2 separate regions of the Homo sapiens genome follow, and region 2 is linked to region 1. Evidence: promoter capture Hi-C in 16 types of primary human blood cells and fetal thymus (Javierre and others, 2016). All regions are on one chromosome and are shown on one strand. Each heading gives the region's core, a stretch centred on a gene start or on the middle of the fragment in contact. The rest is flanking DNA. Distances are from core to core; before and after follow the strand shown. Region 1 holds the start of CDK5R2 (cyclin dependent kinase 5 regulatory subunit 2). Region 2 overlaps NHEJ1 (non-homologous end joining factor 1).

Region 1 (3,564 bases), core at 224-2,723:
CTCATCTTCCGTCCCCACTCCACGCCCAGCAAATCCAAACACCGCGGCCTCTGGTGTCCCGGTCTCCACTTTCCCCTGAGGGGCATGGGCGTCTCCTCCTCCGCCCAGCCGGGGCGCTGAGCGGCGGTAACAGCGGCGGTGGCTTTGTGGTCCCGGGGGGTCCGAGTGTGTGTCAGGGGCTGGGGCGGGGGATGGGCGCGGCCCCTGGGTATCCCTAGCGGTCCAGGTTCATAGTCCAGTGCTTGGTTCCGGCCGCGCAGCTGTCCCTGGCGGCCGAGGAGGCGGCGGGCGCGCCCCCGCTCGGTGGGCCCCCGCCGCTGGCGGCGGCCTCGCCCTCGTTCTTGAGGTCTTGAAAGACCTGCGTGAAGAAGTGGGGGTCGGCGTTGAGCCGCAGCATCTGCGGGCTGAGCCGCTGGATGAGGCGCAGGCAGCGCTGCCAGAAGCGCTCCTTGTCGGGCTCCACGAGGAAGGGCTTGAGTGGGTAGGAGATCTCGTTGCCCATGTAGGAGTAGGCGAGGTAGAGGCAGGTGAGGAAGGCGGCCTGCAGCTCGGCGGCCGACGCCAGCTCGTCCCCACGCAGCGACTCGCGGCACAGCAGGTACACGAACACCAGGTTTGCAGGCGTAATGAAGGCCTGGTCTTGCCAGCCCTGCAGCAGCAGCGAGCGGTCCACACCGCGGAACCAGCCCACCAGCTCGCCCGGGCTCAGCTCCTTGAGGCGATAGCAGCGTCGGCACACGAAGTCGCCCAGACAGCGCAGCAGCTCGCCGGTGGACGCCTGCACGATGACCCGCCGCGGCGAGCCGCCAGGCACCGGCGGCGCCACCTGCGGGGCTGGGGGAGGCGGCGGCGGAGGCTTTCCCCCGCCCGAGCCCGGCGGCTGAGCGGCCGCGCTGCCCCCCGACGGTGGCTCGCAGGTGGCGGCAGCCGCGGGCACGGTGGGCACTGGCACCGCCAGGGGCTTGGCGGTGCCGCCGCCGTCGGGGGGATCCCGGCCCTTGCGGAGAAGGTTCTCGCGGTTGCGTTGCTGGACCAGGGGGTCGGGGCCCGTGGATGCCGGCTTGGGTGTCACCTTCTTGCTGCCTTTCTTCTTCTTGGCGGACGCGGCCACCAGGCGCTTCCAGGTGAGCGCCGAGATGAGCACGGACGGCCGCTTGAGTCGGCTCTCGCCTTTGCCGCCCTTGCCCACTGGCGGCGCCCCGTAGCCCCCCAGCGCCTCGTCCCCCGCGGGCGGCGCCTTCTTCTTCTCCTCGGGCAGCCCGCCGGGCCTCCGGCCCTTGGCCGAGGAGGCAGGCGAAAGAGACAGCACTGTGCCCATCCTGCAGAGCGGGGCCGGCGCCCAGGCCCCAGCGGGAGCCGCGGGCGGCGCCGCTGCTACTGCAGCCCCGGGGGACCCGGCGGTGGGGGGCCTAGCCCCGGCCCGGGCGCGCGGACTGGCGGGGGAAGGTGGCTGCTAGGCGGCTCCGCTGCTCTAATCCTGAGCTGCGCCAGCTGCAGCGTCAGCCCCACCCCTTGGGCCCCTTTTTTCGTCGCGCCGTGCCCCGCCTCACGCGGCCAATCCGCTCCCGAGTTGCACTCCTGATGGGCAGCTCCAATGACCAATAGACTCTCGCACTTCAATTTCAAGTCCCGCCCCAATCCCCACCCTCCGCCCTGAGTCTTTTCCCTTCCCCCGAGCGGAGGAAGGGGAAGGCGGTGGTCGTCGTTCGAGTGGCCTCCTCAGGGTCAGAGTTGAGAAGGGGTGGTGGCTGCTCCTGCCTCCTCCGGATCCTAGGGCCTGGACCAGCTTGTTCTGATGCACTGGGTCGCGGTAGCAGATAAACCATGGGAACAGCTCTCCTTCCCTCTGCCTTTGAATTTGTGTGGGGGGCCAGTGTGAGCAGTGAGTGCCCTCACCGGATGCCCAGGTCCCAGATGGGTCGCGTTGCACTGGCTCCTCCAATGTGACTGTCAGGTCTGTTTCCTCTTCGCGACCCCACCTCGCCCCCCACCCCCCAGGTCGCTAGGGGGGCTGCAGCAGGCACATTTCTGCCCTGCCTGTTTGGGAGTCCTGGCAGAGCCTTCTTGCAGGTCACAACCCGCCTTCTTGGGGGTTCCAGCTTGAGGGGGAGAGGGGGAGCAGCAAGGTCTCAAATATGCCCCTGAGGCTTCTGCTTGCCGTCCTGATTCTCTGCAACTGAGCCTGTGGGGCAGACCCTTGGCTCTGGTCCCTGGGCAGCTCCTCTCGGTTGGTTGTCCCCACTAACACACACAGATCTCATACTTGGGTGGATGATGGATAAGGTTGGTCCCTGGGGAAACGCTAGAAATTGGATCACTTGGTCTACCCAGTCTTGGATAGTGAACGGAGCCTCCTGTGTGGACGGAAGCCCAAGAGGGTTGGACCAACCTCCAGCCCAGCCCTGGGTCCAGGTTGAGGTGGGTTTCATCATTAAATGCTTCCTGCAGGTAAGGTTCCAGCTGTCCCCACTCCCAGGAGCAAGCTGTTAGGCTGGGTCCTGTCCACTTCTCTCTGGGTCTGTCTGTTACCTCCTGAGTACCCATCAGCCCTTTGCCCTGGATTTTGGACTCCCCAGGCCTTACCTGCAGGTCTTGAGCACAGCTAGTTCTGGACCTATTCTATCTGCCTTGTTAGATCATGTCCACCCTTCTTGGAGCCTGCTCTCTGTGGCTCCCCCAGCACAAGAGCCTTCAGGCTTCTTAAGTAAGTGGACCTTGTAGGTGCATATGGGTTCCATGTGGAGCCAAACCCCTGCCTATGTATTTCAGTAAATTCTAAGGATTGCCCTTGGAGTCACCTCCATGCTCCTCACAGACCGCAAACATAGCTCCAAGGATCCACTGCTGTCAGGGTTGGTTTGTGCATATATGTGTGTGTGTGTGTCACTGCAGATAGGCTGTTCTAGAATCCACTTGGGCTGCAGTTCCAGCTACCAGAGGTACAGAATTTCCCAGCCATTCCACAGCCCCTGGTCACTCACACCCTCCTGGAGGCCTGTGGTCTGCCTGTCTCCATTCCCCTCCTCTTTACCACTGTGCACATGCAGCCTTGTACCTTCTCCCTAACTCAGCACCCAATATGCACTTTTTCAACAGGGTATCTCTGCTCCCTAGGATCTGATCTTTATTTTCTTGCAGCCCAAGCTGACCTTCCCAAACTCATTCTCCTCATAGTTCTTGAAAGTGTTCCCTCTTTTCAGCTCCTGTAATTGGCCCCACTTCCTCCTACAAGGTGTTCTGAGTCACTCTTTATCTGCCAACCAAGGAATAGTCAGTTCACCGGTAGTTAAGGACAAGCCCTGTAGAGACTGAGTTGCACTGGCGGAAACACTGGGCATGTGGATCTAAATGGCACATGAGTCCTTCCAGCGCTGCTCCCAGGAGTCCCTCACTGGCATAAGGCCTATTGTTAAGGTCATTTAGGACCACGTCTTCTAAGCAGCACCCACAGAGTGTCACCACTGTGGTACCCTATTCCCGGCCCAGCTCTGACCTCCTATTGTCCTCTTGGTCAGAACCAAGAATTTCCTCCTCTGCTTCAGGGACCCCAAAGCAGGTGCCTCA
Region 2 (3,811 bases), core at 1,279-3,778, 180 kb before region 1:
AACTGAAAGGATGTGCCATCAAAATAAGCAAGATGGAATAGGAAGATAAACAAACCAGGGAGAGAGCTCAAGATGAAGGCGCAGGGGGGCCAGGGCTGGTGTCAGAGGGCCATGCGGTCATTGCCTGGGGTCAGTTTTTAAAATTCTCATTGGGATTATTACTAGGCAAGAGGCTATAGACAATAAGGCACAGGGGACAGTAGGCCAGGCAGGTGGCTAGGATACTAAGGCTCGGGAAAATAAGAATTGAACAGGGGTTACTTCTCCCTATTTGGTCCTTTTGTTTTTCCACTCTGTCTAAGAGCCTCTGATTTCTCAATTCTGGGGAACCCAAGGAGCCAGTTGATAGTGGCCTAACTAGAGGGTGATACTGACAATATTGACTCAAGTCAAGCCTGGGTGGGATGCCTGTTGGCATGATCTTCATGGAGGCCAAGAACCCTATATAGGGCATTTTGTAGGACTGGGGGTTGAGAGGCATCTTTAGGAGTGAAAGAAGAGTCAGGGACTTAGGGACTGTTGTTACACGGCAGTAGGAACTATATGAAAAAGGAAGTTTAGGATGACTGGGCAGAGCCCACTCTCAGTCTAGTCCACTGGAGGGAGTTCCTTCCCCTGGCCCTGTCCATGCCTCGCTCTCTCCATCTGGTTGCCATCAGGCTGTGTGGCTGCTGGCGGGCTCTTTATTTATTTATCCCAGTGTAATGGGGTGAGGAGGGAGCTGGCCTAAGGCTGGCATTCCAAGGCCATGCCACTGAGCCACAGGCAGTTTGCATGGGTGTGTGAGTCACTGGGGCTGCATGCTGCTCAAACCAGACGCGGCCAGGCTCAGGGACAGCAGGCAGCCCAAAATAGAGCCCCGCCCTCTACAGCTGGCAACCCCTGGCTAGGAATCAGCCCTTGACACCAAAACCTGGGCAGTTGCTTGAAGTTGGCTTCCTTTGGTAGGGGTCCCTTAGCAGAGATGGAGATTTTGCAATTCTCTACTCTTCTCTCCTCTTCTCTTCTCTTCTCTTCCCTGCAGTCGTTCTTACTGCTGCATTCTGAATGCCTTATAAGTCTTAATCTGTTCAGTATAATACCTTAGCTAAGAAATTAGGGGGCTATAGTTAACATTGATTTGACTTAGCATCCTAAGTGCAGCCATGGTTGTTATATTCTGCCTAGTTTTAGTTACTGTCTTCAGCTCCTGTCTGGTTGCAGCCTGATTCTAGAGCAGATACTTTAAACTATGAAGAGAGTCACTGCTGCTCTTACGAAGCTAGAGCTTATATCGCCTGGGGAAGATGGGCAATGCTTTAACTTGAAAATTGCCATCTTGTTAAGCTTGTTCACACTTCTAATTGGTTTCTTTGGCTGGCTCTCCGTCTTCTGCCTGCCTCTTAAAGGTTAGTGTTTCCCAGGATCAGGTCCCTGATCCTCTGAGACTTCACTTTCCTTCCTCTGGGTCATCTCATCTAGACCCCAGTGTCAACTATTGTTGGTACATCGCTGAATACCAATTTTATATCTCCACTGTGTTTTAGGCCCATATTTCTTTCTGCATGTTTGGCATTTCCACCTGGATGTCCCACATAAAGCACATCCTAAACATGTCCAAAATGAATTATCTACTCCCCCAGACTATTTCTCTTATATTCCTTATCTTGGGGAATTATACCATCATCCATTCAGTTTTCTAAGCTAGAAATTTGGGAGTCACTCACTTTCCTCTTTGTCCTTACTTTCAAAGCCTAATTTATTGACCGTCTTTTGAATCTGCCTATCTTCTCTATTCTACCTCCCGTTGTCTGAAATTAGCCATTTTTCTCTCCCTTTTCCCCCACTCCCCCCCTGCTTTTTTTTTTTGAGACCAAGTCTCACTCTGTTGCCCAGGCTAGAGTGCAGTGGCACAATCTCGGCTCACTGTAACCTCTGCCTCCTGGGTTCAAGAGATTCTCATGCCCCAGCCTCCTGAGTAGCTGGGACTACAGGCTTGAGCCACCACGCCCAGCTAATTTTTGTATTTTTTGTAGAGATGGAGTTTCACCATGTTGGCCAGGCTGGTCTTGAACTCCTGACCTCAGGTGATCCACCTGCCTTGGCCTCCCAAAGTTTTGGGATTACAGGTGTGAGCCACTGTTCCTGGCCTTTCTGTCCCTTTTTTGGCTTGACCATGCAACAGCCTCCTAACTTGTCTCCTGGTCAGTTCTTATTCCCCTGCAGTTGAATTTGTAGTTTTGTCAGAGTGATGTCTTTGAAACTGAAACTTGATTATGACACTTTTTGCTCAGAGTCCTTTAGTGGCTCCCGGTTTCCTACAGGATAAAGTTCAAACTCCTTGCACGCCACACGTGATCATTTATGATTTGATCCTTTTGACATCTTCAGCCTGCTCCTCTGGCATTCCACTATAACATCTTTAAATACCACCTTGTGGATGAATCTCACATTTATTCTTCACTGTAGGTCTTACCCTGAAACTCCAGACTGCTTGTTTAACATTTTCATGAAGAAGTTTAAAAAATATCTTAAATTCAACACGTCCAAAATTGAACTTCCAGTCGTATGCCCAGATTTACTTTTCCAACAACCCCCTCCCATCTAAGTTGATGGAAGGTTCATTCTTTCACTTTTAGTTGGGTGAAAAAACCTTGGAGTCATCCTGACTGCTGTCCTCTCACTTCCTACAGCCAAAGTCCATCAGGAAATCCTGTTGGCTTTACCTTAAAACTATGCCCGTAATCTCACCTCTGCTGCTACCATACTGGAGCCACCATCATCTCCTACCTGCATTATGGCAAAAGCCTCCTTATTTGTATCCTGCAGCTACTCCTACCCCCTCCTGGCCTATTATCAACAAAGCTATCTTATTAAGTTGCAAGGCACATCGTGATATTCTTCTGCTCAAAGCCCTTCACTGGCTTAACACTTCATTTATAGAGTAAAATCCAAAGACTTTACCATGGCCTATAAAACCCTATATGATCTTATAGAACTCTCTTACCTTTCTGACCTCATCTCCTACAACTTCCTCCCTCATTCACTCCACTGCAGCCACACTGGCCTCTTGCTGTTTTTCTAACACTCTTAAGTGTTTTTCTAACACTCTAACACTGCCTTTAGGCCTTTACATTGGCTGTTCCCTCTGCCTGGAATGTTCTTTCTTCAGATATTTGTGTGGCCAACTTCCTCACTTCCTTAAAGTCTGTATTAGTTATCCATTGCTGTGTAACAAATTGTCCCAAAATTTAATGGCTTAAAATAACAGGCTGGGTGCGGTGGCTTACGCCTGTAATCGCAGCACTTTGGGAGGCCAAGGCAGATGGATCATGAGGTCAGGAAATCAAGACCATCCTGGCTAACACGGTGAAACCCTGTCTCTAATAAAAATACAAAAAATTAGCCGGGTGTGGTGGCAGGCGCCTGTAGTCCTAGCTACTTGGGAGGCTGAGGCGGGAGAATGGCGTGAACCTGGGAGGTCTCAGAGCTTGCAGTGAGCCGAGATCGTGCCACTGCACTCCAGTCTGGGCGAAAGAGCGAGACTCTGTCTCAGAAAACAAAAACAAAAACAAAAAACCCCAAAAAACCAAAAACACATTTATTATCTTGCATGGTTTCTGAGGGTCAGGAATCTGGGAGCAGCTTAGTGGGTGTGATTCTGGCTCAGTGTCTCTCATGATGTTGCAGTCAATATGTCAGCTGGTAACGCAGTCATTGTAACATCCGGATAATTCATATCCAAGCTTTCTCATGTGGCTGTTGGCAGGAGGTGCCATTTCTTGCTATGTGGCCTGTCCATAGGGCTACTCACAGGACCTGGTTTCCTCCA

What was found. Contacts are between HindIII fragments. The CHiCAGO score rates a contact against its expected background, and 5 or more counts as called.
Region 2: a fragment that was not itself captured here is called in contact with the fragment with the promoter of CDK5R2 in region 1 in 2 of 17 cell types (M1 macrophages and M0 macrophages); the score reaches 5.2 in M1 macrophages.

The regions. Positions count from the first base shown.
Region 1 is chr2:218,957,575-218,961,138 of GRCh38, reverse strand. CDK5R2 (cyclin dependent kinase 5 regulatory subunit 2) reads right to left here and starts at 1,473. Exons shown (of 1, transcript NM_003936.5): 1 at 1-1,473. The coding sequence starts at 1,318. The coding sequence ends at 215. RefSeq lists a silencer at 1,221-1,490. The HindIII fragment of the contact is 8,518 bases long and covers 1-3,564 here.
Region 2 is chr2:219,139,417-219,143,227 of GRCh38, reverse strand. The region is part of intron 5 of NHEJ1 (non-homologous end joining factor 1); the gene reads left to right. Among named protein-coding and RNA genes, the nearest start is that of NHEJ1, 19 kb to the left of the region's middle. The HindIII fragment of the contact is 2,399 bases long and covers 1,329-3,727 here.